Linked DNA regions of Homo sapiens: region 1 is linked to region 2. The links are contacts of gene promoters, found by promoter capture Hi-C in human tissues and cell types (Jung and others, 2019). All regions are on one chromosome and are shown on one strand. The core of a region is centred on a gene start or on the middle of the fragment in contact, and the rest is flanking DNA. Distances in the headings are between cores, read along the strand shown. Region 1 has its middle 26 kb from the start of LINC01404. Region 2 holds the start of CUX2 (cut like homeobox 2).

Region 1 (4,852 bases), core at 1,341-3,840, 50 kb before region 2:
TTCGAGACCAGCCTGGCCAACATGACGAAAACCCATCTCTACTAAAAATACAAAAATTAGCTGGGTGTGGTGGCGCATGCCTGTAATCCCAGCTACTTGGGAGGCTGAAACACAAGAATTGCTTGAACCTGGGAGGCAGAGGTTGCAGTGAGCCAAGATTGTGCCACTGCACTCCAGCCTGGGCAACAGAGCAAGACTCTGTCTCAAAAACAAGCAAACAAACCTGGGACAGGGGACATCTGTAAAATGGACATCACAGGGCCCAGTTCCCCAGTTCTCCTCAACACCCTCTCTAACACTTACCCACTTTATCCACAGACAATACCTGCTGGCCCCTAAATGTCAATGGGGCCTGCGACCCCTGGTCTAGAGGCCACGTGTTTTTGTTCTCCACTGAATGACAAGGTGTCATTTCCAGGCTTCATAGAAATGTGCATCAGGCTGGGCGCGGTGGCTCATGCCTGTAATCCCAGCACTTTGGGAGGCCGAGATGGGTGGATCGCCTGAGGTCAGGAGTTCGAGACCAACCTGGCCACTACACTGGTGGTGGCCCATCTGGCGAAACCCTGTCTCTACTAAAAATACAAAAATTATCTGGAGGTGGTGGCCTGCACCTGTAATTCCAGCTACTCAGGAGGCTGAGGCAGGAGAGTCGCTTGAAGCCAGGAAGCAGAGGTTGCAGTGAACAGAGATCACACCACTGCACTCCAGCCTGGGCCACAGAGTGTGACTCTGTCTCAAAAAAAAGAGAAAAAGAAATGTGCACCAGATTCCTGACCACACACCCGGCATCTTGGGACACACAGAGTGGTAGAGGCAAATCTGCAGATTCTACAGCAGAAATTTTTCATCCTCCGTTTATTCTTTCTATGATCATCACCAAATATTGAGGAGCTTTGCTATTCTTGGAAATATTTCCACTAAACAGAAAACACTCAGTTCATTGGCTTTCCAATTCAGGCATCCTTTGATTTGGATTCACTTCTTGGTTGACTAGAATATATCTTCAAGTAGCTTTTTCAAAAGATCATACAAGTATTACATTCTCTGAGCCCTTGACTATCAGAGAATGTTCCTTAGTTGCTTTCACACATGAGTAATAACTTGATCGAGTATAAAATTACTATGAACATAATTTTGCTCTGTAACTCTGAGGCTACTGCTCCATATTGGGGTTGCATATGTGAAATTCAATTCTTACCTTTCTCAGGCAACCTGTGTTTTCAACTTGGACCCTTAGAGGTTTTTCCTTGAAATATTTTTAAGGGCATGTTGGTAGGGATGGGAGCTTGTTTCCAAGATGGCCACCATCCATTCCTTCATTTCCCGTACATGCAAGCCTTTCCCGATTGAGAAGTACAATCTCTTTCTCCACTTCTTTGACTTGACCAATAGAGTGAAATGGAAAAGAAGACTCTCAGAAGACTGTGTGCCTTCTGAAGCTAGGCACAGAAGAAGCCTTGAAGCTTATTCCGGGGCTTCTTAGAACATTCAGTTTGGAGGAAGCCAGCCACCATGGGAGAAGCCCAGTCACCTTGATTGAGACTGCCAGGCTGTGAGGAGGCTGAAGCTAGCCCACAGACAGGTGGAGTGAAGAGAAAGAGATGCCCAGCCAGCCCCTACCTGTTCCCGCCATCCCAGCCCAGATCCCAGACACAACGGTAGAAGCCTTCAAATGATCTAATCCCTGCCACCAGCTGACTGCAACCAGAGACCCTGAGCAAGGTCACCCAGCTGTGCCGAGGGCACCCACAGAATCATCAGAGATAATAGTGAGATGATGGGGTTCATTACAAAGCAAAAGATAGCCAGAAAAATGTGCGCTTCTTCTCAGTAATTTTGCCTGAATTGTGATAAGTCCTTTTTCCTGTATAGTTGGCCTTTTTTTTTTTTTTTTTTTGGAGGAGTCTCACTCTGTCACTCAGGCTGGGGTGCAGTGGTATGATCTTGGCTCACTGCAACCTCCAACTCCCAGGTTCAAGCAGTTCTTCTGCCTCAGCCTCCCAAGTAGCTGGGATCACTGTCATGCACTACCATGCCCGGCCAATTTTGTATTTTTAGTAGAGATGGGGTTTCACCATGTTAGCCAGGCTGGCCTTGAACTCCTGACCTCAAGTGATCTACCCACATCAGCCTCCCAAAGTGCCGGGATTACAGGTGTAAGCCACCACACCCAGCAACTTGGGCTTTATTTTTTTCTGACCCAGAATGCTTTCTGTAATTTTTGTCCATGTTTGTTTTTGCATTTTATTTCTTTTTTTCCATCATGAATGCCCGTTTTCCTTAAGCTGATATTGCCCCTCATAAATAATCTTTCTGTCCATAACATTTATCATTTTTCCTCTTTATGCTACAAGAGCTTCTCGAGCTTGGCTCCCATATTACTGATTTTGGTTTCCTGCAAGGTCACTGCTGCACTTTAACCACCCCCACTGGGGATTTAAATTCTGTCATTGCAATCATAGTTTTGCTTTTGTTTTTTAATCTCTGTCTACACTGTTCTTAGAAACTTCTGCTCCTATTTTATTGAAATTATCCCCTTTGTATATGTTCTATGTAGCACACAAGACAAATTTCCATTGTTTTTCTTCTGGGACACACAGTGAATATTTTTTAAAGGTAGCTTCTTCCTTTTAGAAAGACATTTCCTTCCTCTCATTATGCAGTAATTTTTTGCATACTCTCCACCGATTGACTTTTGTTTATTCATCTTTGCAGAAGCTGGTTATTACCTAGGCTTGTGTTTACCGACAGACAGGTTGTGTGAATTGCCCTCAGTACTTCTCATTGTCCACTAAAGTACCGGTTGACCCCAGCTCCTCACCCCAAACGCCACCATTTTATTTGTTATTTATTTATTTATTTATTGAGACAGGGACACTCTGTTACCCTGACTGGAATGCAGTGGTGCGATCTCGGCTCACTGCAACCTCTGTCTCCCGGGCTCAAGTGATCCTCACACCTCAGCCTGCCAGGTAGCTGGGACTATAGGCACCCACCACCACGCCCAGCTGACTTTTTAAATATTTTGTAGAGATGGGATTTCACCATGTTGCCCAGGCTGGTCTTGAACTCTGGGCTCAAGCCATCCACCCGCCTTGGTCTCCCAAAGTGTTGGGATTACAGTCATGAGCCACTGTGCCCAGCCACCACCACTTTATAATCTAAACCTGGAGAGGAAAGGCTGGCTGGTCTGTACAGCAACTAGAGGCAGTGTCAACCAGGTGCTCGCCTATTACACTGTGTTGAACTGAGGAGGGAACCCCTTCTATCCCACTGCACTGTTGGCTCTTTGGCACAATGAACTAAAAGAAATGCATTAAAAACTATAATCCCCAGCACGCACTCCATTCCATGGGCAATAGCACTTCTGGGAGTTGTCCCTCTTGGGAATCAAAGTGCTTTTGACATTCTTCCCTCTATTTTATCTCCCCTGACCTATATAGTCTTCTAGAAACTTCATTTTTTTAAATGTTTTAATTTTTATTTTTTTGAGACAAAGTCTTTATCTCTCATCCAGGCTGGAGTGCAGTGGTGCAATCATAGCTCACTGCAGCCTCAAACTCCTGGGTTCAAGTGATCCTCCCACCTCAGCCTCCCAAGTAGCTGGGACCACAGGTGTGCACCACCACACCCAGCTAATTTTTGTATTTTTAGTACAGACGGGGTCTCGCTATGTTGCCCAGGCTGGTTTCTAACTATTGGCCTCAAGTGATCCTCCTGCCTCAACCTCCCAAACTGTTGGGATTTGAGGCGTGAGGCACCATGGCTGGCCTTGGAAACTTCAGTCTCTAACTTCAGTAGAACTATGGGCCAGTAAGAAAAAGAGTACTTCACCTATAAAATTACACACCCCTCCTCACCACACAGTGGAGAAAACTTCCACCCCTCCTCCAACCCCAAGTTTCTGATTGGCACAGACTCCGGGTCTCAGAGACTGGGGTTGCAAGCAGGGAAATTGTTGAGTACTTTTCGACCTCTTTTTGGCCTGGAGTGGTTCCCCTAACTCAGGAGATAAAACTTGAACAGAATCCCCATTGTTTATCTCAACCCATCTCCATCTGCCTTGTATTTATGGAAATTCCTCCCAGATTCTAGCAAAAAGGGCCTGTCAGTCTTGGGTGTCAGCACTGTGAGTTTTCAATTCTTTCTGCCTTCTTAGGTATTTTAGTGGAAAGCTGGGAAAATACGTCTCAGGAGCTTCTACTCTGGTGCCAGTTTAAGTTGACCCTCTTCCCCTTACAGTTTCACCTACTTTTTCACTCATTCACTCATTCAATCAACAAACATTTATGGGAAACTTAAAGTGTGCGGGGTATGATACCATACACTGGGAAGCAGAAGGTGAATTGAAGCTTCTCCTTGCCCTTGGAAGAGCCTCTCTTTTGGAGGAAGCACTGTCATAGTTCTCGTATGAGTACAGGAGTGGTGTGTGATGCTGAGACTTCGATAAACCAGAGAGGTTAAGTGACCTGTGCAAGGCTGCACAGTAAATTGGAGCAAGATCCAGAGAAGAGGCTGGTTCTCCTGGTTCTCCAGTCCACATTCCTCCCACTGTGTCTCCTGGCCTCCTCCTTCTTATCATCCTGAGTTTCCTCTCCAGCTCTCCCATGGCTGGGATAACTTATAGCCATTGCTCCATTCCTTACAGATATTTATGTGTGGAGTTCAAGCTTCTCCCCAGTTCTCACCCAGCCCCTGGTCCTTCTCACCCTAGAGCCCTTTTTTGGGCTAGGAACACCTCATATCACAAACTGGAGAAGGTGCCAAGAGGTCTCTGCTACACTCTTCTTATGTTGGTGGCCTATGACTTAACCCCTTTGCTTTTCTCCTTTGACCAGGTCTTTAGAGC
Region 2 (4,981 bases), core at 22-2,521:
CCCTCTAGCCATGCTGAAGACCCTCTCCCCAAAGACAATCACAATAAAGGAATGTCATGTTGCAAAGAACGGAGCCCCGGATAATAATGATGATAACAACAGCAGAAACCTCCGAGGTTTTTAAGGATCCGGAGCCCCCACAGCAGGGGTAGGGCACCCTCAACAGTCATAACAATAAAACAAGCCCACTGGGGGAAAAGGCCCTCCAGAGGTTTGGTTCAGAACCAAATAACAAAACCTCCAATAATCATCATCACAGTAAAAGGGTTTCACCTTGCAAAGCTGTGGGGGAGTCCCTATAATTGGGTTAAAGACCCCCCAGATAATAACAACAGAAATCCCTATTCCAAAGGACCTGAGGCCCCGCCCTCGGCCCCCGCCCGTAAAGAACCCTGAGCTACTACTCAGACGAAGCCCCCCTCCCCGCCAATAATAATAATATAATGGCGCGGAAACTGTGGGCGGTGGTGGTGACATTTCCCACGACTCAGTGGCGCCCCCGGGCGGCTCCCACCCTCCCTCCGGCCGGCGCGTCTACGCAGCCCCAAGTGCTGGCTGCGACCCTCGGATCCCAAGCATATCTGGCGATGGAGCGGCGGCAGCCCGAGGCACGTGTTGTGTGTGCTCCGATTGCAAAAGAAAAAAAAATGCATTTCAAACTATTAACTTTTTTTTAAGCGTGCAATGCCGGGAGCTGGGGGTAGACAGGTGCAAGCGGGGGTAGGCGCCCCGCGCGCCCGCCTCCCGCAGCGCCCCCTCCCAAACTTCCCTTTGCATTGATCAGCACGTTACGTCAGTATTGATAAGTTTGCAAAAAGCCAAAGTCAAGTGCAATCGCGCGGCACACCGACCCCGGACTTGGGGGGGAGATGCAGCGAGCGCTCCGCGGGCCCGGGAGCCGGCGGCAGGCAGGGCAGCGGCGGCGCCGGCGCCTCTCGGAGAGGCTGCCTCCCCCCAACCCCTCCCCTCCCACCCCATCCCCGGCTGCCTCCCCCGGGCGGGCGCCGAGCTCCCCGCCCGGCGCGCTCCGCCCGCGCCCTCCGGGGGTCGGGGGGGCGCACGGCTCCCGGGCCCGTTGGCGGCGGCGGCGGCGGCGGCGCGGCGGCGGCGAGGGGCAGCGGGTGGCAGGAGGCCGGAGGGCGCCCGAGGGGCCCCGGGCCGCGGCGCTCAGGGCCCGGGCGGCCGGCGGCGGCCCCGGGGCTGGGGGGAGTCCAGCCCGGATATTGAGTGCAGCCATTGAGAAAAGCCAAACTCTTGTGTGTGCGCGTCTCGATAGCCCCCAAGATGGCCGCCAATGTGGGATCGATGTTTCAATATTGGAAGCGATTTGATCTACGGCGACTCCAGGTTAGTGCGGGCAGCGCCGGCCGCGCGGCCGTGAGGAGCCCCCGGGCGCGCCCTGGGCGCATTGGGGAGGTCCCCGGGCGGGCAGGCGGACGCCCTGGGGCGGCGGGCGGCGGCTGCCGGGGCTCGCCGGGGCTCGGCCGCCCGCTGCCCATCGATAGGTATTAGGAATTGATCTCGCCGCTGCTCTTTGTTCGGTTCAGTCATCGATTAGCTGCCGCGACCATGGAGAAGCGCTAGTGAGCCCTCGGTCGGCGGAGCGGCCGAGCGGCCAGGCGGCCGGGCGAGGAGCGGGGAAGGCAGGGGCTACGGCCTCGGGCAGGGGGCTGCTGGCGGGAACCCCCGGCGGTCCCCCCTGAGCCGCACTTTGCGCGCCTCCCAACTTCGCGGCGCCCGGGGAGGCCGCGGAGCGCGCCGCTTGCCAGTCCGCACCCGGCTGGGGCTCCGGCGAGGGAGGGAGGGAGCTGGCGGGCAGGGAGGAGGAGGAGGAGAGGAGGAGGAGGAGGAGAGAGGAGGAGGGAGCCGGGGTTGGCGAGGAGGCGGCTCCGCGCCCCGCCGCTCGCCGGCACCTCAGCCTTCGCCGCCCGCCTGGCTGCGCAGCCCGGACGCGCCGCCACCCGGGGGCCGCCGCCGCCGCCGCCAGAGCCGCCGCCGCCGGACTGGCCGCAAGCGCCGGCAGACCTCTTCTCCTCGGGCCGGGGTCTTGGGGTTCGTCTTGCTTCTTGCCTTTACCCCCCCGCCCCTTCCATCCCCTTCCCAAGTCTAGATGCAGACGGGCGGTGGAGGTGGGCCCGGGCGCTCGCAAGTTTGCGCTCCTGCCTCCAGGGCGGTGGAGAGCCGGGAGCGGCGCAGAGCAGGTGACTCCCAGCCCTCGGGCCCAAGGGAACTTTTAAATGAGAGATTTCCTTGCTTGTTCTGCCTCCTGCGTTTCTCCCCGCTGCTCCCCTCGTCTCCTCTCTCCCGTCTCTGCTTTTCTTCTGTTTCTTTCCTCTCTTCCCTGCTCTTTCTCTCTCCTTCCCTAGGGCGACTCTTCGAAACCCCATCACTTTCTCCCCATCCTCCCTTTGTGGGAGTCTGTGTGCCTCCCCTAGATTTGGAGGTGTTCTCTGCGGACCCCGTAGGAGCCGGGGCTGGGAGGTGGAATCTCAGAGAACGCACCGTGGAGGCGCGGCTCCGGCCTCTGTTCTTTCCCGGAGTGCCCCGGACGCGCCTGGCAAGGCCCCCCAGCCTTGGAGTCTCGCAAAGTCTCGGCGGGTGCGGCGGGGATCAGGGGCGGGAAAATGGTGCGGATAACAGGGCGGTTAGAGCATCCTGCCTTGACCGTGACATTCGCGGAAGACGCGAGATCATCAGTCTGGAGATAAAAAGGGACCCACTTTTTTTTTTTTTTTTAATCCGCCGGCAAATCTCGTTAAGTTTCTTCTGATAAGTGGTTCCAGCACCCGCGCCTTCTCCCCGTCCTGGCCGCTTCCCAGTCCCCGTCCTTCCGAACGCCCCACTCCTCGCTCTCCCCCTCCCCCAAAGCCATTGAGCTGGGGAGAAAATCGGGGCACTGAGGCATGCAGTTAATAACTGCCGAGTGCCTTGCAATTCCGGGTCCGCACTCGAGTTGGGGCTACAGTTTGGTGGCCAACTGAGACGGGCAGGGCTGCGAGCTGTGCCTGCCGGCTTAAATGATGCTAAAGTGGCCTTTCTGGAAGAGTGGGGGTTATGGAGGCAGAGAGAGAGAGAGAGAGGGAGAATTGGGCAGCCACATTGGGCTTGGCACGAAGGCCAATGGTAATCGTATTCCCTGCTAATGTTTGTAAATGAGACCCGGGCACGGCTGGGGGACAGCGTCTTTATTTATGATTGATGTTCTGTAACATAAGGAATGACAAGAACGTGGCACACAAGAGGAGAGGAACCAGAAGGGCTGGCGAAAGCCCTTTGCAGGGTCCTATTGTTATTCTGGGCTGGAGAAAATTTCCGCGGCGAGATTTACAGCGCTGGTATTTGCTCCCGGTCGGCCGGAATGTCAGTTAACACAATTTTCATTAGATAACTCGTTTTCAATCCGGGGAGCTCGGGCTGCAGCCCGGGGAGAGGCAGGGGCTGGGTGCTGAGGGGAGGGTGCGGCTCCCAGGGGGCTAATGTCTGAACTAGGGAGGTTGGAACCTCACTGTCTTCAGTCTTCTACCCAAGGGGTCTTTTGTGGAACGGTTGAGGTCACCCAAATCTTGATTCCAGCTGGACGCCCATTAATCTGGGAACCCTTTGTTAGGGTTTTAGAAGATGCATAGATGGAAAGCAAATTTGAACTGGAAAGGATAAAGGTAGGGGGTGGTGGAGGGGTTTGTTCAGGTGATGGGGAGATAGGACCCAGACCTCCCAGCCTACAGGGTGTATATGTGAAGGGGGGGGTTGTTCGTTAAAACAATGGCTAGTGTGTCTGGCACACAGGAGAAGGCTCTCAGGGAAGGGGGGTAAACTCATTTACATCGATATTAAGTGGAGGGGGTGTCCCTGTGGGAGTTTGCAAGGCAGCACACTTCTAGAAAGCAAAGAAATAAACGTGGCAGCCGTGGCCGCGTGCAAACATTTTGGCCCTCCATCTGCCGCGTTCCCCACCCCCAGCCTGAAATCTTCAGCTGGTCCCCTGGCCAACAGGCCCGCAGCCCCCCACCCCCACCCCACCCCATATCCTCACTGATGGCATTTTTGTTGGAAGTGGATTAGGAGCCTAAGCACTTTGGCCTGGGATCCTCTCTTGTACATAATGCCAGTGACTCCTACGACACACTTTTATTTTCATTTTTTGCCCCTCCCCTACTTTCCTCTTATAGGGGAGATAGCCAGAAAGGAGAACTTCTGCCGGCTTTTTCTGAGATCCAGGTAGGAGAGGCAGGTCCCCGTGCCCAGCCCCAGGCAGCCGGAGAGCCGGGGTCCCGCGTCCCGAGGCTGAGCTGCCTGTGATGTGAGGAGGTGCGTGGCTTTCATTCCTGGCTGTTCAGGTTGAATGGTTTCTCGCAGCGTGGTTGCTGAGCATTAAAGTGGCCGAGGCAACATGGGCGGCCCCGTGTCCCCAGGCCATACCACGTCGCTGACGCCATACCGATCCTGGCAAGAAAGGTGACCTTGTACCAGCCCGGTGTCCAGCCCTCCGGAAACGTATATTTTTCAAAAATGGAAGCGTTCCAGTTATTATTCCTTCCAGCGCCGTCTCTGTACACAGCAGGGCTGTTTTCCTAGGCTGGAAGTCAGTCAACAACCTTAATGACTTTGGGCCGATGGTAAAGGTGATCTGACATGTGCCACCCTACTCCGGCACTCCTGAAACTACCTCCCCCCGTCTTTGCTTCTTTTTTGCCTTTGCTGCTAGCAGCTCAGGAAACGAGAAGAAATAAAATTCCATCCAAAGATAATGCTAGGCATATTTCATTTGGTTATAAGATTGCTTTATGGTGAACATTACTAATGCAGTATTTTTTTATGGCTTTTCTGTGTATAATCGTCGTAACCGGATTCATACCTTTATGATTTTCTTTTTCTGCTTAACTTTCTACTTTTTTTTTTTACCATGCTCTGGGTCCAGTCTCCCATGCTGTCTTCCCTGACTCCAAAGAGGGTTAATTGAGCTAACAATGAGCTGGGGGGC

What was found. The method cuts DNA at HindIII sites, captures the fragments that hold promoters and counts their contacts. A contact is called where the count stands out against the background at its distance.
Region 1: a contact is called between a fragment that was not itself captured here and the fragment with the promoter of CUX2 in region 2, in 1 of the 25 tissues and cell types used here (mesendoderm cells).

Annotation. Positions count from the first base shown.
Region 1 is chr12:110,981,243-110,986,094 of GRCh38, forward strand. No RefSeq gene overlaps it. Among named protein-coding and RNA genes, the nearest start is that of LINC01404, 26 kb to the left of the region's middle. The HindIII fragment of the contact is 3,847 bases long and covers 668-4,514 here.
Region 2 is chr12:111,032,894-111,037,874 of GRCh38, forward strand. CUX2 (cut like homeobox 2) reads left to right here and starts at 1,272. Exons shown (of 22, transcript NM_015267.4): 1 at 1,272-1,347. The coding sequence starts at 1,285. The HindIII fragment of the contact is 13,154 bases long and covers 1-4,981 here.